7 separate regions of the Homo sapiens genome follow, and regions 2, 3, 4, 5, 6 and 7 are each linked to region 1. Evidence: promoter capture Hi-C in 16 types of primary human blood cells and fetal thymus (Javierre and others, 2016). All regions are on one chromosome and are shown on one strand. Each heading gives the region's core, a stretch centred on a gene start or on the middle of the fragment in contact. The rest is flanking DNA. Distances are from core to core; before and after follow the strand shown.

Evidence for each region. Contacts are between HindIII fragments. The CHiCAGO score rates a contact against its expected background, and 5 or more counts as called.
Region 2: a fragment that was not itself captured here is called in contact with the fragment with the promoter of SLC2A13 in region 1 in 5 of 17 cell types (naive CD8 T cells, non-activated CD4 T cells, total CD8 T cells and 2 more); the score reaches 10.6 in naive CD8 T cells.
Region 3: a fragment that was not itself captured here is called in contact with the fragment with the promoter of SLC2A13 in region 1 in 4 of 17 cell types (naive CD8 T cells, total CD8 T cells, total CD4 T cells and 1 more); the score reaches 10.3 in naive CD8 T cells.
Region 4: a contact is called between a fragment that was not itself captured here and the fragment with the promoter of SLC2A13 in region 1, in 4 of 17 cell types (total CD4 T cells, naive CD8 T cells, naive CD4 T cells and 1 more). The highest score is 9.9, in total CD4 T cells.
Region 5: a contact is called between a fragment that was not itself captured here and the fragment with the promoter of SLC2A13 in region 1, in 3 of 17 cell types (naive CD8 T cells, total CD4 T cells and total CD8 T cells). The highest score is 8.8, in naive CD8 T cells.
Region 6: a fragment that was not itself captured here is called in contact with the fragment with the promoter of SLC2A13 in region 1 in 4 of 17 cell types (total CD8 T cells, total CD4 T cells, naive CD4 T cells and 1 more); the score reaches 9.2 in total CD8 T cells.
Region 7: a contact is called between a fragment that was not itself captured here and the fragment with the promoter of SLC2A13 in region 1, in 1 of 17 cell types (naive CD8 T cells). The highest score is 6.3, in naive CD8 T cells.

The regions. Positions count from the first base shown.
Region 1 is chr12:40,104,260-40,107,815 of GRCh38, reverse strand. It overlaps SLC2A13 (solute carrier family 2 member 13), which reads left to right and starts at 1,735. Exons shown (of 10, transcript NM_052885.4): 1 at 1,735-2,563. The coding sequence starts at 2,008. RefSeq lists silencers at 71-200, 1,582-1,831, 1,852-2,111, 2,132-2,201, 2,212-2,301 and an enhancer at 412-581. The HindIII fragment of the contact is 3,714 bases long and covers 492-3,556 here.
Region 2 is chr12:39,324,067-39,327,622 of GRCh38, reverse strand. KIF21A (kinesin family member 21A) reads left to right here. Exons shown (of 38, transcript NM_001173464.2): 25 at 1,299-1,359; 26 at 1,730-1,784. It overlaps LOC101927019 (a long non-coding RNA gene), which reads right to left. Exons shown (of 3, transcript XR_007063276.1): 2 at 1,001-1,108. Among named protein-coding and RNA genes, the nearest start is that of KIF21A, 120 kb to the left of the region's middle. The HindIII fragment of the contact is 455 bases long and covers 1,757-2,211 here.
Region 3 is chr12:39,340,501-39,344,056 of GRCh38, reverse strand. It overlaps KIF21A (kinesin family member 21A), which reads left to right. Exons shown (of 38, transcript NM_001173464.2): 13 at 1,933-2,023; 14 at 2,435-2,552; 15 at 2,963-3,151. Among named protein-coding and RNA genes, the nearest start is that of KIF21A, 100 kb to the left of the region's middle. The HindIII fragment of the contact is 266 bases long and covers 1,455-1,720 here.
Region 4 is chr12:39,359,106-39,362,661 of GRCh38, reverse strand. All of the region lies in intron 7 of KIF21A (kinesin family member 21A), which reads left to right. Among named protein-coding and RNA genes, the nearest start is that of KIF21A, 82 kb to the left of the region's middle. The HindIII fragment of the contact is 4,505 bases long and covers 1-3,556 here.
Region 5 is chr12:39,414,286-39,417,841 of GRCh38, reverse strand. All of the region lies in intron 1 of KIF21A (kinesin family member 21A), which reads left to right. Among named protein-coding and RNA genes, the nearest start is that of KIF21A, 27 kb to the left of the region's middle. The HindIII fragment of the contact is 264 bases long and covers 1,876-2,139 here.
Region 6 is chr12:39,461,382-39,464,937 of GRCh38, reverse strand. No RefSeq gene overlaps it. Among named protein-coding and RNA genes, the nearest start is that of KIF21A, 20 kb to the right of the region's middle. The HindIII fragment of the contact is 200 bases long and covers 1,649-1,848 here.
Region 7 is chr12:39,572,652-39,576,207 of GRCh38, reverse strand. It overlaps ABCD2 (ATP binding cassette subfamily D member 2), which reads left to right. Exons shown (of 10, transcript NM_005164.4): 9 at 2,367-2,492. Among named protein-coding and RNA genes, the nearest start is that of ABCD2, 45 kb to the left of the region's middle. RefSeq lists an enhancer at 1,088-1,888. The HindIII fragment of the contact is 389 bases long and covers 1,748-2,136 here.

The DNA.
Region 1 (3,556 bases), core at 486-2,985:
TATTTTCATCTCAGCAAGAGGGAACTGTCAAAGAACCAGATGCTTCTCATCTGCGGAGCCCTTCTCTTCAGAAGCCGTGGGAATTGGCTCACCACCAGGGGGCGCAGTTTTACTATACCGTAGCATGCCGCGGAAAAGGCGCGCTCTCACCTGCAATATTGTCCGAGGTCTGAATATTAAAGAGTTCATTGCTGCAGATCTAAAGGCTCTCTCTGTTTAACTGATGCCTGGGAATGACGGTAGAGCCTTGCTTTAAAGCCAGACGATAACATTTAAATAGTTAAGCCGTCTGGCTTCATTAGTTTATTTTTCCTTGTTGCTGGCAAGGAAAGTACTATATTGTAGAGATAATCGTGACTGATAATCAAAACGAAAGCAGTTTTGACAAATTCTAATATAAGTTTTTACTGAAACAGGAATGACAAAATCCTTTTGTCTGAAAGGAAAAAAGTTATAGCTGCATGAAAAATAGGCCCCAGGCTAAGAAAGCTTTTGCTCAAATAAGGGAAATAAAAGAGCAGTGGAATTGTAGGAATAGAATCATATGATGCTTGACTTTTTGCCCTCAGCCTGAAGAATGAAAGCAAATTAGAGGCACAAAACATCTTTAGCAGTCCCAGCTGCTAGGAAGGCTGAGGCAGGAGAATCGCTTGAACCTGGGAGGCGGAGGCTGCAGTGTGCCGAGATAGCGCCACTGCACTCCAGCCTGGGCGACAGAGCGAGAATCTGTCTCAAAAACAAAACAAAACAAAACAAACTATCTTTAGCCCCTGATGCGCAACTGTATATTTTAAAAACATTTAAATTAAAGGGGGAAACAAACCCCAAATGAACCAACAACTGTTAATTCACTCAACAGTTTAAAAAATTGGTTGCAAATAACGTTATCTTTGCTTTGTTTCAAGTAAATGAGGCTGTTAAAACAGTGCCTCATGGAGGGCAACAGTGGGGATTCTCAGGAGAGAAGCTATCCTACCTTTTGGTTAGCATGTTGGGGCGGGGAAATGGAGACTGCCTGCCGAATCACAAATCAGGGTCTTGAGTTTTCTTTCTATTTCTGGGAATTACCCGTTACATGAGTGGAATGCATATATGTGAATTTTCTTTTACAGGTCGGGGATCCATGGAAGGAGGGTTTGGGATTCACCACAGAGATATGTTCTCTGTCCTCAAAGAATCAAATGTACCATTCCTTTAAAATAAGCATAAATTGAGGAGGGACTGGCGATGAGAGTGGAAACTAGCTATAGAAATGGGAGCATGCAGCCCTGAATTGCTCCAGAACAAACACATTTAATGCCAGGGAAGTAGACCACGCTGGGTAATGTCACAATACTATAAAAGGAAGGGTACTTGCTAGGTCCTATTCTAGGATATTTTTTCCAGCCCTCTCTCTAGGCTGCTGGAAGGACAGTGAGGCTGGTTTAGGTGCTCTCTCCCTCCTCTCCAAACACGGCAAACATTCTGGGTGGCTTCCCGTCTGGAAGCCTGTTGCCTGATGGCATCGCCACATTGGCTTGCTCCACCGCTGCAGCTCGGAAGGCAGGGTTAATTCCATACGGTTGCCAGAGCCCTAAATGAGGGAGCCTAGGTCAGAGGTCGCACCCACCGGGAGGGCGGGGTTTAGGGGTCCGGGGCGGGCTGAGCCTGGCCCCGCCCAAGGAGGGGGCGGGACGTTTCCCGGGCCCCGCCCCGCCGGCCCGGGGTTGCACGTGACCCGCGGTCCCGCCTCCCGCCCGCTCCGCAGCGCCAGCTCGGCAGGCGCGGGGCGTGAGTGTGGAGTGAGACCCGCCGGGCTCCAACTCCGCAGCGTCGGAGCGCGGCGGGCAGCAACTTTCTCCCCGGAGCGGCCGTGGCGGCGGCTGCTGCCGTGGCAGCCGGAGCGGAAGCCGGGAGGAAGAAAGCGGCGGCAGCGGCGGTTGCTCCCGCCGGCTCGGGCTGTCTAGCTCGCCGAGACTGCCGGCCCGCGGAGCCGCGTCCCCCCGGGCAGCCCCGGGCCCCTGCCCTATGTCCCGCAAGGCAAGCGAGAATGTGGAGTACACGCTGCGGAGCCTGAGCAGCCTGATGGGCGAGCGGCGCAGGAAGCAGCCGGAGCCGGACGCGGCGAGCGCGGCCGGGGAGTGCAGCCTCCTGGCTGCCGCCGAATCGAGCACCAGCCTGCAGAGCGCGGGCGCGGGCGGCGGCGGCGTCGGGGACCTGGAGCGCGCGGCGCGGCGGCAGTTCCAGCAGGACGAGACCCCCGCCTTCGTGTACGTGGTGGCCGTCTTCTCCGCGCTGGGCGGCTTCCTGTTTGGCTATGACACCGGGGTGGTGTCAGGGGCCATGCTGCTGCTCAAGCGGCAGCTCAGTCTGGACGCGCTGTGGCAGGAGCTGCTGGTGTCCAGCACGGTGGGGGCGGCTGCCGTCTCGGCGCTGGCCGGAGGCGCCCTCAACGGCGTCTTCGGCCGCCGCGCTGCCATCCTCCTGGCCAGTGCCCTCTTCACCGCCGGCTCCGCGGTGCTGGCTGCGGCCAACAACAAGGAGACACTGCTCGCCGGCCGCCTGGTCGTGGGACTCGGCATCGGTGAGTTCGGGCTCCGTGAAGGGCGCCCGGGATCCCATTGTCACCGCCCTTGACCCTGGGTGTTGCGTGCCTCTTGCCCATCGGGGTCCCCGTCTGGTCTCCCAGGGTCAGAGAATCCTCCACTTCTCTGGCCTCCAGAGCCCATCTGTTTGTTGGTCCAGCCTCCAAGGCTCTCCCGGGAGGTGGGAGGGTCGGGGGGGAGGGGGTGTCACTCTAGTCTCCCTCGAGCGCACGTGGAATCTTTGATAGGCCACGGACCAGTCAGTCCAAGTGGTTGTTGCCTCTCAGCACTTCCAGAAACCTAGCTGAGCACCAGCTCTTTCCTTGATCCAGCCTAACCTGATGCTGCTTCTTGAGCTTACGAGGGTCTCTGCTTTCCTGCACTGTCCCACCTTGCCTCTCCACTGCTAGCCCCTTTCGTTTTCTGGGGCTCCCAGCCTGGAACCTAGACCATCGTCAAGTTACAGTGAGATAATATTTAGAGTTAAGTAATTCTGGACTCTGAAAGGTTTATTAGCGACCCCTGCCCTCTTTGCTTATCTAGCATTTGTCTTTAGATGGCATCTCCTTTTGCTTTTATGCTTTTTCTATTGCCTTTCAGCTTTCATTCTTTTCCCAAGTAAATTCCATTCTCCTCTGTTTTTCCAACTTTTTCATTTGAATCCTTTTTTATCCATTCTCCTCTTTGTTTTTCCTCTCCTGCTTTCCAGTTGGGAACCAAATTATCTATTAAAGGTCATATTCACTTCCTTAATTCATTTAGGAGCTACTCCCCCTGTGGATAAATGCCCCGCAAGATAAATGTTTGGAATTTACTTCAAAAATGAAGGCATTAAGGTTCTCCTGGCGTTGAATTTTTTTCACCCTGGTTGCTGAGCAGGGGAGGTACAATTGGCAAGTTTTTGGCAGAGGGAAGCTATTTGGAATGTGCTCTGTATTATTAGAAAGCACTTTTGAGGGAAAGTGGGGGGCTGTGACTTAAATCTCACTAGT
Region 2 (3,556 bases), core at 735-3,234, 780 kb after region 1:
GAGTTAAGAGCTTTTTACGAAGCACTTGCATGATGTTTAACATTTAATTTCATCACACTGTGCAAGAAAAATACTAGCAAATCTTAGCCTGCTGTTAAAACACATGGAAAACAGAGGCTAGGTTTGTCATTTCTTTATAACATAATTTTCTATGTTACTGACTAATTCAGTACCTTAGAACTCAGTTATCTTTTCTGTGAAGCAAGTCCTTGAGCCTCCCTCTAATGAGATACATATTGCCTTCAAAATCACCATTTTTTTCACTTCAGAAAGTAAACCCCTTTGAGTGAGTCCTAGATATGATTCTATTTTAGGTAATAATACCAAGTATTACTGAACAATGAGAAAGGAAGAGAACATTTGTGGAGAGAAATGAATCAATTGACTAATGGTGCCATAGCCTACCTGTATTATATAAAATTAAAAATTAAAAGGGGATGAACCCTATATATTTTTCTTTAATGTATATGTTGCTCATAATTTTGTCTTTAGATTTATTGAATGATTTTTATAATAAAATATACATTAAAAAAACCTACACCTATGTTAGGGGCTCGCTGGCATTTTAAGTCGTTTACTTTCTGTGGCTGTTTTATTTACTGACTTCCTAACAGTTTTATATGTTTAATTCTTCTCCCTTTTCACTAGTCTACTACAGTTGTTCTGAAATAGCAGTGGTTTATTTGTATTAGTTTACAGAGCTGTTGCATGCAAGCCTATTGTTTTTGTCTTCTGTGTTCATGTGAATGAGCTGCATGCTGATGTGTGACTTCTGAACACCCTCATGCACACCTTCTCTCTGTATGTAGGCAAAAATACAAAAATTAAAAAAGGAAAAATATTCAAGTACATTGGCATAACTGATAAAGTATAACAACTATATTTACACTTTATGTAGTATTCTTGGTTGACTCAGTACATTAAAGGAGGCTCATGTAGCATTTACTTTATATTTTTAAACAGTGGATTATTGTATGTTTGGATGGTACAGGATACGTACATGACTCTTCAGTATTCATATGTACCCATCTCATTCAGAAGGATGTTACTCTTCTACAGTTTACCATTCAAAGTCATGGTTTTCCTATTTGAACATGTTTTACTCATTCTAGAACACACAATCAAAGGAGAGTTTTTAGAAATACTTTTCTACAATTCTGTCTATTTAGATTCAGCTACTAAAACCATCGTGCCCATATTGAGATGTTGAGCTGTTGTTTATTACAGCCTATGGATTGCAGTCACCATTCAAACTGTGACATGGGGATAATGCTTACATTTTAAACATTTTTTTGTAGAAAATGTAGAGGATAGTACTGATGAGGATGCTCCTTTAAACAGCCCAGGATCAGAAGGAAGGTAAGAAGGCCTTTAGAAACAATAGAGTTGACTTATTTACATATTTTAAATACTTTCATCTTGTATCAAACAATTACCATAAAACAGAAATAATTTTCAATCTAATGGCCTAGTGAATAGCACTTAGAAACAGTAAATAGAAACCAAGTTAAGTCATGCTTAACTATCATAAATTTTAAAATGAAAATATTGAAATATTTAAGGAACATAAATGAATTATTTTTAAATTAATTCATTTTGACTTTAAATATTGTCTTTCTGTATTTCCCATAGGCATATAAATTTTTTGTAGTCGTTGATATAGAGGAGCTATAGTTTTCTATAATAATTTTCTATTTAATCTTGTGCTTAATTATTTATTTGCACATAGCACGCTGTCTTCAGATCTCATGAAGCTTTGTGGTGAAGTGAAACCTAAGAACAAGGTAAGGAGAACTAAAAGTATCAGGTAAACATGTTTTACACCATTATTTGTTATCACTATTTAACACATAGGTTCAGATTTGACTCTTAATAGATTAGCAAGAGGGCATGGTTTTACTAAAGCTCTTCTTTATTTAGTTTTTTTAATCATATTTCCCTTTAAGTGGTAACTGAAAAAATTTATATTAAAAAATTTCTCTGGCCAGATACGGTGGCTCATGCCTGTAATTCCAGCACTTGGGAGGCCAAGGCGGATGATCAGGAGGTCAGGAGATGGAGACCATCCTGACTAACACGGCGAAAACCCGTGTCTACTAAAAATACAAAAAAAAAAAAAAAAAATTAGCTGGGCGTGGTGGTAGGTGCCTGTAGTCCCAGCTACTCGGGAGGCTGAGGCAGGAGAATCTCTTGAACCCAGGAGGTGAAGCTTGCAGTGAACCGAGATCGCGCAACTGCACTCCAGCCTGGGCGACGGAGCGAGACTCCGTCTCAAAAAAAAAAAAAAAATTCTCCTTGGTGGAAATTGGGCTTTACTGTATTCTTATATTTTTCCCACTAGATAACACAATTATGGAGGGTGATTCTTAAGCTGCTGATTAACTAAATTGTAGACTCTGTAGTGGCATACAATCTCAGTCATTTAGATTGGCAGGAGATTTTTAAAATTTTAGCATTCTAGTGTGTTCTTAAGTGTTTCTTATTTGTTTAACTGTGCCTTGAGGTGGTTTTACTAATAATCTAATCTGTAATTATTATGTGTTAAAAATTTATGAAGCTATGATGCGTATTTGTAGGGTTTTAAAAAATGATATAAATTATACATGCAGTTAAATGTGTGAGATAGCTATGGTACATATCAGGTTGAATGTGGTAGCATTTGATAGTAGGTGATTTGACTAACAATCATACAATGTTTGAAAACAAAGAATTCTTGCAGTGCTTATTAAATATTGTTGAATGAATGGATTGAATCAGGACCTGAAATAATAATACTGTGCAATGGATAGTATATATTTAAGGCCCACAGTGGTTAATCAGGTAATGCAAATGACTAATTTAGCTGGATATACAATGAACGGTTCATCATTATGATTTCCTGGAGAGTACATGCCCCATCTAAAAGGAAATAGCCACCATCAAGTTTTGCTCATTTTTGCTGTGTGGGAATATGGGCCTAAGGCTACCAGATCCTTTGTTTTTTCAAGAGAATTCTTAAATACGGATTTTTACATAGATTTCACGGATTATTAAAACACTGGTTAAGCCAATCAAAAAACATCTCCAGGCTCTTACACATGATCTTTGAGCTATTGGCTTCGCAACATGTGGTTTGTGTTTTATTATTCTAAGTGTCTAAACAGAAGTTACCAAAACTCAAATAAAACATTCTGCTATGGTTCGGATCTAGTCCTAAGCAAAGGAGAGAATCTCTTAAGATAAATTTGATCTTTCAGGCTCTGAGAAAGCCTATTTAGTTATGCCACTGTGGGACATTAGAGAGAGATGTGAAGTGGTGGCCTAAAGGTCATCTCCTGAAAGAACCACCTGGCTTAAGAATTCCCAAGAAAAATTTCATCTCTGCTCTAGGTTCTTGGCTGTGGAGAGAATTAAGAGTATAAAAAATGGCTACAGGGCTTTCTCTTTTAAAACATTTTCTGAAGTGCTACCTGCTACTCCGTTTGAACTGCTAAGATGCCTGAAAAGGATCTCGTATCATTTCTTTTTTTTTTTGAGGCAGAGTCTTGCTCTATCGCCCAGACTGGAGTGCAGTGGC
Region 3 (3,556 bases), core at 338-2,837, 760 kb after region 1:
ACTTCATTCATTTCCAGTTAAGACTGTTGTATTGGTACTCCTACTTGTACTTTCTTCTCTCTCCGTATATATGCTGTCTCTCATGCATCTTTATGCATCTTTGAAACTGTACCATTCTGCTCCAACCGAGCTAGTGCATGAGACACATAGGCATGTTCAAACAGAGGTGCTCATGCATAGTCACAGGGATTGGTTTATTTAACAAACACTTACTTCACATTCATTATGTGCCAGGACCTGGGTACTAGGGATGTAATGCGGAGGCAAACAGACACGATCCCTTCCCTTAGGAAGCTGACTGCCTAGTGAGAAATACAGACACTAAATAAATAATAACATAAACATAAATGACAAACTCTGAAAAGTCCTTACAAGGGAAAAGTATTTATATTCATAGTGCTCAGTAGAAAAATATCTCTGAGAATAGAAACCTAGAGTTAATCATTAAAGTTATAGCTATAATAGGGCCTAAATGAGATTAAGTTTTTAGCCTAGAAGCTAAAAATCAATCCATGTATTAGGGAAATTATTTAATATAGAAGAATATATGAAAACATGATAGCTGTTATTAAGCTATTCTGATAAAGTTGTAAAGTTTTTTTTGTAGAGGAATTTTACTTTTAGAATATTGCATTATTTGAGTATTCTATTTATTTATTTTTTAAATTTATTGTAATTAATTAATTAATTTATTTTTGAGACAGAGTCTCGCTCTGTTGCCCGGGCTAGAGTGCAGTGGCGCAATCTTGCCTTACTGCAACCTCTACCTCCCGGGTTCAAGCGATTCTCCTGCCCCAGCCTCCTTAGTAGCTGGGATTACAAGTGTGCGTCACTATGCCAGGCTGTTTTGTATTTTTAGTAGAGACGGGGTTTCACTATGTTGGCCAGGCTGGACTCAAATGCCTGACCTCGTGATCTGCCCGCCTCAGCCTCTCAAAGGGCTTTTTAATGATTTTAAAATGCTACTATAGCACAAAAGGAAATAGTTCATATATAGATTCATTTAAAGTTCACTTAATGTTGTTTAGCTTAATTAAATATGTGAGTCTAGTGATCAATAGTGTAATTTCTGTGCATAGTTGATTGCTAAACCCACAAAGGATTCGAGTTATTTGGGTGTACGAAACTTCTCTCTTTTCCTCAGGGCCACCAGGGCTGAATTAATTTAGCTATAATCATTCCCTGGTATGTGTGTAGTTATGGCTGTAGGTACTAGGTAACTTAAGAGGAGAGCTTCCAATTATAAGGTGAATCTTGCGGCAGACCCTGAAATTTTCTATTCAATCAAAGGGCAGCCTGAACATTAGACAGTTTTTGGTATGCAAAGACACATTGTGTGAGACCATAATGAGAAGTAGCCTTGTGCTGTACGGGCAGCCTAAGAAAAAAGAGCCTGTGCCACTACCTGAAGGAGACCTGAAAATACTGATGGATATAGCTAGTGTAGACAAGCTTACTGTGGGCAGATTTAAACTGGAACTTTAAATTTACTCTTAAATGTATTAGGACATCAGTGAAAATGTAGTTTTTTATATCTTTGTATTTATATGAGAGAAGTTTTTTTGTATTCAGATGAGAAAACAAAAATGTTTGATTTCTTTTCAATTTAAATTGCCTTACATTCTAGTTAATTGGCTGCTACTGTGACTAGTTCTTAGGGGTGTCGAGGTCTCGTGCTTTCGGGCATAATCTATTCCTCAGTGTTTTCTGAAAATAAGCTTTTCTCCAGTGATATAAATCATTACACTGTTGATTGATTGGCAATTTCCATTTTTCTCTGAAGCATCAGATAGAATAGCTTTGCTCAGTTAAGTGACCAACATTTAAAGTTTGTTTTCACAAATCATTGATGGCTTCTAAAAATCTGAGGGAGAAAAAGTGAATAATTTTCCTTTCTATTTTAACACCATACCCTTATGTTCCTTTTTTTAGTGTGGCTGGTAAAGAGGATAATACAGACACTGACCAAGAGAAGAAAGAAGAAAAGGGTGTTTCGGAAAGAGAAAACAATGAATTAGAAGTGGTAAGTATGAAAGAATGAACTTGTCAGTTTTAGTCACCAGGTTTGGTTGTTCTTGGTTGATGATAACTTACTAACTTACTTGTAGAAAAGTGAACTGCTTATGATGCATTCTGTTTAATCTATTTCTTTGAAGATGTTTCTTCAGAGATACAAGCTATAAAATATTGACAACTCTCAATCTTATGTATTGTGAAAGCATTGTGTTGGGGAGTCAGGGGTAGAATACTATGAGAGATGAAATACTTTTTGATTTAAGACAAAATTACTCTGTAATAACCTTAACATTTTTATACTGATGACAAGTGAATTTTTTTATGTTTCCGTACTTTGTACTCCAGCAGCCTCTCTCAATGAGGGAGTCAGTTTGTTTTGCCAATATTGTGCTATTAATTTTTACAAATCACATTTTAGGAAGAAAGTCAAGAAGTGAGTGATCATGAGGATGAAGAAGAGGAGGAGGAGGAGGAGGAAGATGACATTGATGGGGGTGAAAGTTCTGATGAATCAGATTCTGAATCAGATGAAAAAGGTACTTGCCCTTTGGTATAAGGGCAAAAATTCATTTTGGGAAGTTGTTTAAACCATGACAGAAAACTCTTAACATTCTCTATTTCATACTTGATGAAAGAAACTTCTGTGACCACTGACCTACATTTGCCTTCCAAGGCTTATGTGCTAAACAAATGAGTTACTTCTCTTACTGGATTTAGTCATTGTGTGATTTCCATTCTTACCTAATACAAATAGCATTGTCCTTGACCAAAATGAACACTCTTTATCTCATTCACCTTTTGGTTGTTGGTTTTTCCAGGAAATTTTTCTAATAACTACTAAGTGAATAAAAATACCTAGTTGATGGTTTTTATGGTCTGCTTGAAAGCTAGAATTCTGATATTTTGGCCTAGCACCAGGATTTTTATTTTCTTCTTTTATAAATAGCCAATTATCAAGCAGACTTGGCAAACATTACTTGTGAAATTGCAATTAAGCAAAAGCTGATTGATGAACTAGAAAACAGCCAGAAAAGACTGCAGACTCTGAAAAAGCAGTATGAAGAGAAGCTAATGATGCTGCAACATAAAATTCGGGATACTCAGCTTGAAAGAGACCAGGTGCTTCAAAACTTAGGTAAGAATTATATTTAATTCAAATGAAAGTTCAAGCTAAATCTTCAAAATGGGTTTTTATCTTTTCCTTTAGAAGAAAAAAAATAGAAGCCGTATTAAACCCTTTTTTGTTATTTATTTGTTTTGTTTTTGCAAGTCAAAGTTTGTGCCTTTTATTTAAAAGTTATATGTAGCTTGTAAATACTTTTTGGCCACATTATATGTTAATTTGTCTCATAATGTTAAATATTGTTATTTGTTTTGTTTTTTCATACCGATATCTGCCTAGGCTGTTTACTTACTTTATACAAATTTATGGTTGTTTTAATGTTTTGATTTATGTTGGGGACATTTTAACATAACATATTAATAAATAAGCTTCAATAATCATTAAACAGGTTAAGAGTAGATAATAAAAGAGAGAATG
Region 4 (3,556 bases), core at 626-3,125, 750 kb after region 1:
AGTCTTCTAAAAATTCAAATTTTTTTTTATACGTGGAAAAATCTTAATGTCCACTGAATGAAATACAGAGTGTTGGCTGGTTATTAACTTTGCCAATATCACTGACATTCTTGCTTTCTCATACCTTGCATCATTCTGATATGTTTTTTCAGCTTTTTTTTTTATGGTAATGTATTCCCCTCTGTAAATATGTTGGCTTTACAAATGGAAACATTTTTGGGATTTAAATTCAATCATAGCACAATTCAACAAGTTACCAACAACCACAGTGAATCTATTTTACAGTGTTTGCAATAATGTAACATCATATTTACTGAAAAGATTATTAGATGCTATACAACAAATCTAGTATTTAAACTAGCAAGGTTTCTTTTTGAACAACTGTGTTAGTTCGTTCTTGCACTGCCATAAATACCTGAGACTGGGTAATTTATACAGAAAAGAGGTTTAATTGTCTTACAGTTCTGTAGGCTCTACAGGAAGCATGATTCTGGCAGCTGCTTGGCTTCTAGGGAGGCCACAGGAAACTTACAGTCATGACAAAAGGCAAAGAGGGAGTGAGAACTTTACAGGGCTGGAGCAGGAGGAAGGAGAGGAAGGTGCCAAACACTTTTAAGCAACCAGATCCCCTGAGAACTCTATCATGAGAACAGTTCCAAGAGGGAAATTTGCCCCCAACATCTAATCACCTCCCACCAAGGCCCCACCTCCAACACTGGGGATTACAATTTTACATGAGATTTGTGTGAGGGCACAGATCCAAACTGTATCAACAACTATTATCCAAATAATTTTGGATAATATTAAATCCTTTTAAGTTTATAATCCGTTTGGTTTAGAAATAAAGTTCTGTTTTGGCCGGGCGCAGTGGCTCATGCCTGTGATCCCAGCACTTTGGGAGGCCAAGGCGGGCAGATCATGAGGTCAGGAGATCAAGACCATCCTGGCTAACACGGTGAAACCCTGTCTCCACTAAAAATACAAAAAAATTAGCCAGGCGTGGTGGCGGGCGCCTGTAGTCCCAGCTACTCGGGAGGCTGAGGCAGGAGAATGGCGTGAACCCAGGAGGCGGAGATCGTGCCACTGCACTCCATCCTGGGAGACAGAGCGAGACTCCGTCTCAAAAAAAAAAAAAAAAAGAAAGAAAGTTCTGTTTTGTAGAATACAACATTGTCATTTTTATGTTTCTTCCTTTTATGTACTATTAGCATTTGTCTTAACTCATGTCTCTTCCAGCACATCCTATGTATGGATGCAGTTTTCCTTCCACTATCATATATTTCTTGTGTTCTATATTTTCAGTTTGATCTTCAGTATCAAGAGGGGTCTTATTATAACAGAATAAAAATTTTCATTTTTTCAGCCAAGTGTAAATTTTTTCGGGTTTTCTAAATTGTAGCTTTTTCCTGTATTTATTTCTTAACTATAAAACAAAGCAGACATGATATATGTCCTCCCCTTACTATTTTAACTCTTGAAAACTTCAATACTTTTGAAAGTTTGCTTACCTTATAAGTGGTCTAAGATATTTTCACTGTGGATCTTGAATTTCTGCTGAGTTTTAGGCTACAGCTAAATAGTCTCATGTTCCTCACCTATTTCCTTAATGGGTGGTAACCCCTCAAAGGAGATGACCCCTTCTAATTCCTTTCTTCGTGTGCCTCAATTTTTGCTTAAAATTTTAGGATTGCATTCCTAGTGCAAAAGCACTGTACTTTGTGTAAGCCTTGGAGAGCAAAATATCTTCACTTTTTGAAGTTTATACAAATTAAACTTAAAAGAAAAATTAGACCAAGGATATTTTTGAAAATAAGCTCCATATGTTTATGTGCATAATTTAGTGTCTTTTAAAAAATTCGAGCTGGTTTTTTTACATTTACAGTGTTTAATAAATATCATAACCAGTTTATGGCAAAAATTCTGGAAAATACAGGAAAGTATAAAGCATGAATAAAAATCAGTTATATTTATAGCTGGGCACAGTGGCTCAAACCTGTAATCCCAGTACTTTGAGGCCTAGGTGGGCGGATAACCTGAGGTCACAAGTTGAAGACCAGCCTGGCCAACATGGCAAAACCCCGTTTCTACTAATAGAAACACAAAAATTAGCTGGGCATGGTGGTGGGCACCTGTAGTCACAGCTACTTGGGAGGCTGAGGCAGGAGAATCGCTTTAACTCAGGAGGCGGAGGTTGCAGTGAGCTGAGATTGTGCCACTGCACTCCAGTCTGGGTGACAGAGTGAGACTCCATCTCAAAAAAAAAAAAAATCATATTTCTAATACCTAGAAGTAACTACTGCTAACATTGTGATACATTTTCAAGATGTGTAGTATAACTTAATTTGTAAGAAATATAATATACAATATAATAAAATATTTAAGTGATATAGTTCTCTTTAAAGCAGAATTGTGTGCTTTTTGTGTGAACTTTTAAAATAAATAGCTTTTTTTTAGCTTTATTTTATTTTCTTTGAGTTTTTCATAAATAGAATCATTCTTGAAATTTATATATTTTGGGTTTTGTTTAATATATGATGTTTTCCCTATACAATTGATCCTTGCCAGTTACTCTTATTCCTGACTTTCACTATTCTTCTTAAGCCCTTGATCCCAGCACTTCTCAAAATATTTGTTAAAGGCGAGTCCTTCCCTTCTTTCCAATTTGTGGTGAGTTAATATTGTGCATGACCATACAGAGCTTGCCCCATTTGTGACTCACCATCGGAGTTTGAAAACACTTGAACTGATCTATACTCAATGAGAGGAGGTCATTGATTACAGGAAGTTCAAGTGTTGTGGAAGTTTCTAAAGTGCTTACTTGCAATTTCTGCATTACTTTAAACATTTTTTGTAAATAAGTAAGAAATGGATGTATGTACCTGTGCTTACTCAAGGTGTTGTGGGTCAAAGAAGGCTAATATAAATTTATTTTCCCCAATTTTATGTAAGTAAAAATAATCTGCAGACTGGTGCTAGACTGGGGACCACACTTCAAGTTGCTCTATTCTCTAATCAGCATCCATAATCCTCACGCTTACTGAATTACCTTATTTTCTTTATCAAAAGAGAAAACTAAAATGGCATGAATTATTTTAACTTTCTGACCCCCAGTAAATATTATGTACACATGACACACATCACAATTGTTAATGACCTAATATTGGTTCAAATGTTGTGTTATATGTTTAGAAGTATGCTGATAAATAAAAGTTGATAATCCCTGTCCTTTAGGAATCTAAAGTCTAAGAGTTTTGGGGTCTATAAAATTTCAATATAATAATAATATAAAGAATGCAAAAGAGATATCCAAAAGGTGTGAGGAGGCAGAAAGGGTACAGACAAATGGAGGATTTGGTTCTTGGATTAGGTGATACCTTAGTTGATTGTTGAATAATAGTAACAGTAAGGGTAAGCAAGAGTTGTAGGAAAAAGGTGTGGAATGGGACAAGGGGTACCTACGAGTACTGTGTTGAGATTATTGTCGAAAGAAAAGATTGGAAGCAGGAGACTAGGAGGCTAAGATTATGATTGATAGGCATTGATTTTTCTACCAGGA
Region 5 (3,556 bases), core at 758-3,257, 690 kb after region 1:
TAGAGCTTCTTGTCATACTGTCATACTTGTCATACTGTATTTTATATTAATAATATATATATATTTTCCATTCCCTTTGTTGCTGCCCTAGTTCAGGTTTTAAATTATTCAATACCTGACCGAATATAATAGTGTCATAATGATGTAGACCAGTGAAGTATGAGCATTCCATGGAGCAAATGTTCTTTCCAGGGTGATCTGACCACAAAATTAAGTGTTATTGGTATTGCTTTGTTGGTTGTATAGCCTTTCTAGAACTCAATAGGTAATAAGATGAAGGAAGCCATATCTTTTCCTTGTATGCTACATTTGCTAAGTGATACGAAGAAGCCTCACATAACTGTTCCCTTACTGGTTAAAAAGTAGCCGGCTAATATATTTTCATTTCTTGTGTGTTTCATAACATAATATAAATAGTGGAAAATTTGGTAAAATCTAAAAGCTATAATTGTCAGTATCATTGATATTGGAAAATATAATCATGACTGAACAAAATTGTATCTACTGGAGAATTTTCTGTTCTCCTCACGTGATTCTGGCATTATTAGATGTTGTATTCATACTTAATATTTTTCAAGGTTCTTCCCCACCCCCAATTTAGTACTGCCATATTTTTCTATCATTCTCTCCCATAACACTGTGTCTTCTGATACATTTTACAAATTTCTTTTTTTTTATGTACCCCTTGTTGTAGCCAAATCCTGTTTCTTTCTCATTAATGTCTTATATACTGCATTTTTCTTCTGGCCCCATTCCTAGCCATTCACACACATGGCCTTCATGCTAGTTCTGGTGTTTACTATTTAATGATTGAGTTAGTGCTATAGTCTGTTAATGAATGATACTAATAGCTAACATTTGTATGGCTCCTTGCAGATTAGAGAGTGAATCCTCAAGGTTTTTTAAAATTTTTTTATTTATATGTGTGTGTGTGTACATATATATATACACATATATATATGTACATATCTATATATACACATATATATGTACATATCTATATATACACATATATGTACATATATACACACATATATATGTACATATATATACACATATATATGTACATATATATATACACATATATATGTACATATATATATACACATATATATGTACATATATACACACATATATATGTACATATATATATACACACATATATATGTACATATATATATACACATATATATGTACATATATATATATACACATATATATGTACATATATATATATATGTATATTTAAGGCGGATCTCACTCTGTCACCCAGGCTGGAGTGCAGTGGTGCTATCTTGGCTCACTGCAACCTCCACCTCCCGGGTTCAAGCGATTCTCCTGCCTCGGCCTCCTGAGTAGCTGGGATTACAGTCACCTGCCACCACACCTGGCTAATTTTTGTATTTTTAGTGGAGACGGGGTTTCGCCATGTTGACCAGGCTGGTCTTGAACTCCTGACCTCAGGTGATCCGCCCTTCTCGGCCTCCCAAAGTGTTGGGATTACAGGCATGAACCACCACGCTCGGCTGTCAAGTTTTTTTACTTGAGCATTTTAATCAGCTTATTGTTATTCCTGTTTTAAAGATGACAAACCAGAGACTTTGAGAGTATCAGAGAATATTAATTAAAAGGGCAGTGACTAGGGCCAGGTGTTGCCTTTTTGATTTTTTTCATCTCTAGTACTTGGTGTAGGTATAAACTTTTTTTTTCTTTCTGAATGAATTAAAACTTTATTATTGGCTCTTCAATAGCTTGATTCCAGGAACTGAATTTTGGCCATGCCTTATATCACTATTCCAATAATTTGTACCCTGGCTTGTTGCTCCCTGCACCTTAGTTACCAGCTTCGTTTACTGGTTAGTTCATCATTAAGCTTTCCTTGAACTGATATCAACAACCAAATAACACTTGTACTTGAAAGAAGTGGTCAAAGGATGTGATGCCTATATTTAGAGGAAGAGCTGTCTAAGCAGAGGGAATCCAAATACAATAGCCCTGGAGTGGGAAATTCCCCAGCATGTTTCAGAAATAGAAAGCAGGCCAACATTGTTGGAATAGAGAGTAGGTGGGGAGAGGCAAAGGTGGGAGGAGTTAAAGTCAAGTCAAAGGTAACAAAATGTGAAGCTGATATGTGAAGCTTGAAATATCTCCTGCAGATTGAGAGGGACACTAATAAAGTGTCTTTTCTAATGACCTGCCAGATTACAGAAGTGGAAGATGAGGTCATGGAAAGCTTCTCAGACATAAGGGAGCTAAAATCATTTATGTTTTAAAGAAGCATTCTCGGCCGGGCGCGGCGGCTCACGCCTGTAATCCCAGCACTTTGGGAGGCCGAGGCTGCTGGGAGGCCGAGGCGGGCAGATCACGAGTTGAGGAGATCGAGACCATCCTGGCTAATGCGGTGAAACCCCGTCTCTATTAAAAATACAAAAAAATTAGCCGGGCGTGGTGGCGGGCGCCTGTAGTCCCAGCTACTCCGGAGGCTGAGGTAGGAGAATGGCGTGAACCCGGGAGGCGGAGCTTGCCGTGATTCGAGATCGCGCCAGTGCACTCCAGCCTGGGCGACAGAGCAAGACTCCATCTCAAAAAAAAAAAAAAAAAAAAAAAAAAAGCATTCTCTACCAGACTTTTAAAAAAATTTCCGTCCTGATTTTGAATTTAACTATAGGAACAAAACAAAACAAAAAAAACTGACTTAAGGAAAGGCCAGGAACTCAGTTCTGTTGAACAGCCTTCCTAAGAAAGATTTTCAATGTTTCTCAGGTGCGTTTAGACTAACTTCATTAGGCTTGTCCACAGTGACCTCTAACAGTTACTTGCAGTGTTTTGATGGTGTTTTCCCAGTCCTAGGCTGATTTTGCTTTGCTTTTTTTTTTCTCTCTGATAAACCCATTCCATTAAAAAAAAAAAAAATCCAAAAAACAAAACACTTGTAATCACAGAATGTTTAGCACAGAACCTTGTATATAGTAAGTAATCTTCATCATGTTATTAATATCTAGATCCCCAGTATTCAGAACAGTGACTAATTCGTGAGTCCTTCAATAAACATTTGTTGATTGACTCTCTAAATTTTTGTTATAAATCAAAGTAAATCTTTGTGATTGGGTCTCTTATACCTGCTGACATTATTTTCCTGAGGCCGACTGCATATCTGCTTAGACTTCACTGCCTGCTGCTTAACCTCATTTTCCTAATGTTCTCTGCCTACTGCTAGACCTACCTGTTTTTACCAGCCTGCATGCATGGATTTCTTCCCAGAGTTATGGTGCTTCTGGGACTCCCTAATTGTCAACAGCTAGTGTATCTATTTGATCTTTAGGTCTTACGTTTAACTGGATGAGATGCTTACCAAGACTGTGTAGAATTCTTTAAGAGCCATTTAGAGCTTTAAATTCTTTCTTAAAGATGATTTTCACACTATGTTTGTAGTACATGGTTGTCAGCCAAATATCAGCTAGATCTTTTGATAATAAAGTATTAGAGACAGTAATGTAATAACCATTAATGGTTTCATAGTGAGCACTTTTGGTCTGCTTTCTGCACAGCTGCCCTT
Region 6 (3,556 bases), core at 499-2,998, 640 kb after region 1:
AGTTCAAGAGCAGCCTGGCCAACATGGTGAAATCCCATTTCTACTAAAAATGCAACAAAACAAAACAAATTAGCTGGGCATGGCAGTGCAGGCCTGTAATCCTAGCTACTCTGGAGGCTAAGGCAGGAGAATCACTTGAACCAGGGAGGCAGAGGTTGCAGTGAGCCGAGATCACACCACTGCACTCCAGCCTCCATAACAGAGCAAGACTTTGTCTCAAAAAAAAAAAAAAAAAGAAAATTCAGAAAGACTACTAGCTTTCCACTGAAATATTTTTATTCAGTAAATTCAAAAACTCAAGCACCAGTGCTTTCTTAAAGTACAAAAATTCAGTAAGATCAGAGAATGTCTTAAAGTGTTTTTGATTTGCAAAGTGTTTCTAATATATAATCTCTTTTAATTTTCACAATGCAACCATATAGAATTTTCATTTTAAAATGAAAATTATTATGCAAATATCTAAGTAACAAACCTGTACTTGTACTCACTAAATCTATAAAAATAAATACCATAAAAATTCTGAAACTCAGAGAAGTGAAGTGACTTGTTTGCACTTGGCAGTAATTAGGTGGATTCATACTCCAACCTAAGTCCTCTGATTCCAGAGAGCAGAACTGTCAATTCTCAAGAATTGACAGTTCATGTGTCTGAGTGTGTATTTATTTAAAAGTTTTTATTACAGCGAAATTATCATCCAGAAAGGTTGCTACCAGTTGATACACAATGTAATGAAATGGTTAGAGCATTGACTCTAGAGCCACTTATTAGCTGTGAGACCTCAGTATAAGTTACTAAGCCATATTGTGCCTCAGTTCAACTGTAAAATGTGGATGACAATATAGCACCTAATCATAGGGTTACTGTGAGGATTAAATGAGTTAATATATTTAAAATATGGATGACAATATAGCACCTAATCATAGGGTTACTGTGAGGATTAAATGAGTTAATATATGGAAAACACTAAGAAGTGTCAAACGTTGCCAACATTTGTGATTCTATCAGAAAGCCATTATTAGTAACAATCTAAAGGATCAAAAATGCCATTGACTTTTTGCCTTATTTTGCATTTTCCTAATTACTACTAAGGTGAGCACCATTTTGTGTTGTTGTTGTTTGGTATGATCTCTTCTGTGAATGGTCAGTCCATATCTTTTGCTCATTCTGTAAAATTTTTTGGTCTCTTCATTTTGATTTGTAGGAGATTTATAACATATTCTGGGACTGGGCGTGGTAGTTCACATCTGTAATCCCAGTACTCTGGGAGGCCAAGGTGAGAGCATCGCTTGAGCCCAGGAATTCAAGACAAGCCTGAGCAATATAGGGAGACTCCTTCTCTACAGAAAATTTAAATATTGGCTGGATGTGTGGTCCTAGTTACTGGAGGCTGAGGTTGGAGGATCCCTTGAGCCGGTGAGGTGGATACTGCAGTGAGCCATGATTGCACCACTGCACTCCAGACTGGACTACAGAGTGAGAGTCTGTCTCAAAAACAAAACAAAACAAAACAAAACAAAACATATTTTGGATATGAATCCTTTGTAATACATATATAGCAATCTTTTGCTTTGTCACTTATTTTTAACTTTGTTCAAGTTGTCTTTTTTTGTAGCAGTTTAAAACTTTTATGTACTCAACTTGTCAAGCTTTTCTTTTATAAAACTTTTGATTTGTATCATATATTTTGTAGTTACTTCTAATACTTACATAGTTTTGGTTTTTATATATGGGTATTTTATACCTTAAAAATTAATTTTTGTGTATGGAGGGAGGGATCTCCCTCTTTCCCTCCCAAATGAGTAGGCATCATCACATGAATAATTTGGAGTTTGATAATCTGTTCAAGCTTTAGCACTTGCAGTCCTCACCCCTCAAACCTGCTCTCTGGTTTCCCCTCTGACCTCTTTCTAAAAGATAGGGATATTTTAATATCCTGATGATATTTTCTATCATCAGAGAGGGAGAGTGAGGGAGAATGAGAGGGAGTGAGAGAGAGAGAGAGAGCTGGTCTTCCTTCCTTTTTTTTATAAGGGCACTAATCTCATTATGAAGGCCACGTACTCATGACCTCATCTAACGCTAATTATCTCCCAAGGGTCCCATCTTGAAATATTATCATATTGGGGGTCAGGGCATTAACATATGAATTTGGGGGTGGGGGACACAAATATTCAGTCCCTAAATTCCATCCTTGGTCCCCCAAAATACATGTCTTTCTTCCATGCAAAATACATTCATTCCATCCCAATAGCCTCAAAAGATTTAACTAATTCCAGCATCTACTCTAAAGTTCAAAGTCTCATCTAAATATCATCTAAATAAAATATGGGTGAAACTGGACTTATGATATATAGTGAGGCAAAATTCATCTCCAGCTGTGAACTTGTAAAATCAAAAAAGTTATATGCTTTCAAAATACCCTGGTAGAACAGGCATAAGATAAACATTTCCATTCAAAAACGGTCATTTCAGAAGAAAGAAAGGAGTGACAGGTCCCAAGCAAATCCAAGTCCTGGTAAGGCAAATTTCATTAGATCTTAAGGCTTGAGGATAATCCTCTTTTGCTTGATGTTCTGCTCTCTGGATACACTGTGGTGGCTGCATTGCTCCTTTGTTCCAGGTCAGGGTCCCACCCCAACAGCTTCAGGCAGAGGCTGTTTGGCTGGTTAAAACTAAGGTAGTGGCCTTGATCACCCTCTTAATCACCTTCAGGGTCATTGTTGCCTCTTGATGAATAGTGCATGTTCTCAGCCAAATGGCACTATCATCCCATCCTATCAAATCCAAGAGGTCTAAAAGCCTTCCTTTATTTCATCCCATCTCAATCCCCTTCAGCTCAAACTTGCAATGTTTCTCTTTGTATAATTCCATAAACTCTTTAACAAGTGACAGTCTAGCAACACCTCTGGTGTGCTTTTCAGAATATGCTTTCTTATTTTTGCAATATGGGCAGCTGAGAACTTCTTAAATCTTCAAGTTTTGGGTTTTTTTGTGTGTAACAATTCCTTCTTTAATTCCTCTCTCTCTATTCACGTTTTACTATAAGCAGTCAGGAAGAACTAAGCCACTCGTTCAACACTTTGCTTATATATCTCCTTAGCTAAATACCTAGTTTCATTGCAAGCAAGTTCTGCCTTCCACAAAACACTAGTACACAATTTAGTCAAGTGTTTGTCACTTTATAACAAGGATTGCCTTTCCTCTAGTTCTGATAACAGGTTATTCACTTCCATCTGAGACCACACAAGAATCACTAATGCCCATATTTCTAATATGTGCCTCAAAACTCTTCCAGCCTCTACCCAGTACGCAGTTCCAAAGCCACTTGCACAAATATGTTTAGATATTTGTTACAGTAGTACCCTACTTTTTGGTAACTAAATCTGTTTTAGTCTGCTTGGGCTGCCATAGCAAATACCTTAGATTGGGTGTTTTAAACAATGGAAATTTGTTTCTCATAATTCTGGAGGCTGGAAAATGCAAGATCAAAGTGCTGGCCTATTCATTTCCTGGTGAGGGCTTGCTTTCTGCCTTGCAAATGGCCACCTTCTCACTG
Region 7 (3,556 bases), core at 693-3,192, 530 kb after region 1:
AACCTGGCAATAGTATGAGACTCCGTCTCAAAAACAACAACAACAACAACAACAAAAACTTTACAGCTTGGCATTTATGACCAGCTGTTACCCACTATCACCCTGAATCTGTTTGGGTCTAGGCCATAAGTACCCAGTAATATGATCACCAGCATAGAAATGTAATATGGTGGAATGTAAAATTTAGCCATAAATTTGTCACTGTATCAGTGTGTTAATAAAATAAACCTTGTAATAAATAGCAAGTGGCATTAATAAATGTTAACCCAAAGAGATTTCACATATCTGTAACCTGAAATAAATACTTGGTGTTTGTGTAACTAAAATATTTTGGATATAATGTGATAATGAGTGAAGATAAGTCACAAGTATATCAGTGGAAAGAAAATTTAGTGAGCCACATAAAGATCAATGAAGAAGAGCAAGTAGTTGAAAAGCACAATCTTTTGACAAAAGATAAAAGGAATTTTAGGTATTCAATCTAGTGAAGAGAAAGTTTAACAATAGGAAACTGCCTTCCCTCATTCTCAAATGATTTAAAGTTTGAATTGTGATGTGAAAGACTTGAGCTGGCAAAAATCAAGAACTTTAGCAGGAAGTACTAAGCATCACAATAGTATTCTCTTTTTGAGAGGATTTTAAATGTTTTAATAGCTCAAGAATGATTGAAAAACTCCTGTCTTAAGGGGATAGATTAAATCCTTCACGAAGCCCATTCTACTGATGATACACAAAGCAAAAAGGAAAGCAAATCTGAGAAACAATATTACCTAATGCTTTTTTTCTTATATCAGTATCGAATTCTAGCTATTGCTTGATATATTCAAGTACACACACAAACACACACAGACACACACCAGCCCTGCCAAGGAAACTAAAACATGTGATCTTACATCTGCTAGAGTAGAGGTTGCTATGACAACGGAGTGTAAGATGCATACATTTTTCTAATTCTAAAATGGTATATTTTCTCTGTTTCGATCAAGGCACTCTGAAAAATAAGCCAAAATGCAATAAACATGTTAATCACTGGAAAGAGGTTTACACAAAAGGAAAATTTTACTCAACCTTTCACTTTTATACTTCCTTTACTTCTTCCTCTTGTTCACTTAAAAATATCATTCATCCACAAAACAGAAAATAACTCTGAGACAAAGAAGTAATGCTTAATACTTAAACCAGAACAGTAACCAAAGGTCAAGCAGTGACACTACTTCTGTTGATGTTGTCATGGAGAACATGCACTGATCTTTTATTCTTTGCATAGGGAGCAGTTTTAGAGTCTTTGACTCCTGTATCTATTAGCCCTGACTACCTGACCTGTGGTAGGTAACTGGATTCTATTAATAAGCAAATCGATTTTAGGACAGTAACTTACAAGGCAAATAATGATTTATTCTGATAAGAAATTACTGATTTTCATTTTTTTAACTTTTTTGTCATTTTATTTTTAAAAATCAGAATTTTTTTGTAAAGAAAATTGTCCCGGCAAATACCTGATACTGATTTTCAACTCCAAATTGAATAGTAAATGACAGTGTAAGAGTTGACTTTGTTCCCATTAACTAAGCTAAGTCATGCTAAGTACCAACAGTCCAGAGGGACTTGAAAGAAGAAAGGGAAAGGACAAAGAAAAGTAAGAGCAGGGGGTGAGATGAGAGGGAGAAAGGATAAGCAGAGGGAAACAATGGCAAGTGATAAGATGCCTCTGATAACAGACAGGCATTATCAAAGTAAAAAATAAGCTTAAAAAATTGTCCAATATACTTAGAAAAATATTTACTTTTCCTCCTAAGAATTTGATTCTGGAGTATGGTTCCAATATTATGAGGTTAAATGTGTGTTATAAATTTGTAAGATGAGCCACATTCACTCTCGCAGTCTTATAGTGATGAAATTCCATTAGTAATGCTTAGGTATTCATATTGCTGATAAAATAATCTTCTCATTAAATCTTTGCTAACAGGGCTGTGGCCTGTTTGATAATTAGCTACTGCAATGTATTTTTCATGTAGTTAGTCAGACCCTTCTCACCAACAATGAACCTGCTTTCTGCAGGAAAATGTACTCAGTGACCTGCCTCATCTTTCCTATGTCCCATATTTATGATTCATTCATCTACAAGACAATAAAGCTTATTGTATTATTAGAAAGCGTCAGAAAATCTATTTAAATGTATTAAAAATGTGATATTATAGTCCAAAGAAGGGGACAACTACTTTTTTGCTTTATCATTTATTGCCTTTAATAATGCCATAGTCTTTTTTGCTCCATTAAAATTGTTAGCAATGCAACTCATATTGTCCAAAGAAAAACTTATAGTTCATATAGCAAAATAATTAATTTTTGTGTGTACTTTTTAAAAGACCAAAATATGCCTTGCTGGATGAATGTACCAGTGCTGTCAGCATTGATGTCGAAGGAAAGATATTTCAGGCTGCAAAAGGGGCTGGAATTTCCTTACTGTCTATAACACACAGACCTTCTCTTTGGTAAGTGTTTCTAGTGCTAATTTGTGGTAGATGGTTTTTCCTTAAATTTCTCAAAAAATAACTTTGCTAAATTTTTCACAGTAGAGGGTAGGGTATTTCACTTATTTTCTACCCATATTTCTCTTAAGTTGCACATTAGTAGCTTAGATACTCCCTACCTAATATCATTAGTGTATTATTTGAATTATCATCAGTTTCCAGTAATTCTTAAAAGACATGGAAAAATCCAGTGATTTATTTTAATGGAAAATATTTATCATTACCCAGTAACATGTACTGGGAAAAATATATTTATATATTTGTACATCATTCTTTTAGTCCTTTCTCTAAAACCCAGGAAAGTAAAATCTGGGGAAAAAAATATATGTACACACAACTTGATACTCCCCCAAAGGATTAAGTGGAGAAAACACAGGTGGTGGTGGGGAAGGGGGGAGGGCTTATTTTTAGTTGGTTTAAAGAAAAATGAGCTAAATTTTTTTAGAACTAATATCTCATAAAACCATATAGAATTTCCCCTTCAAATAAAGATGCTAATTTTACAATTCCCCTACTTTTCCATTGATTCATCATCATCATAATAGTTGAGCACTTATTCTGTTCCAGGTACATCTTATTTAAGCCTCACAACAACCCTGTGGAATTTAGGAAATCTAATCTTCCTATTTTACAGATGAAGAAACTGAGAACTAGAAAAGTGAGATACTTCCATGATCACATACTCTGTACTACAGCACACGGCTCTCATTATAAGGAACTCAAAGTGTATCTCATGCATTAACCATAAATACTACATTCTCTACTTTTGCATTTCTATTTAATCAATGAAAATTTTTTCTTTTGACTTCTTAGTAACTATAACTGTCTCTATATATGCTTTGGCCTCCTGTTTTCTAAAGGACTGCACAGGATTCCTCCTCTCTCTCTTTCTGGCTGCAGCATTCTGTGGCAGGTGGCTGATCAGATTTCATGCCAAAGTTGTCATGATGTACATGGCTTCAAATCTAGCCTAGTAGCAAGCATTATTGGAATTAATCCTTGAAGCCCTTCTAGACCTTTGACCT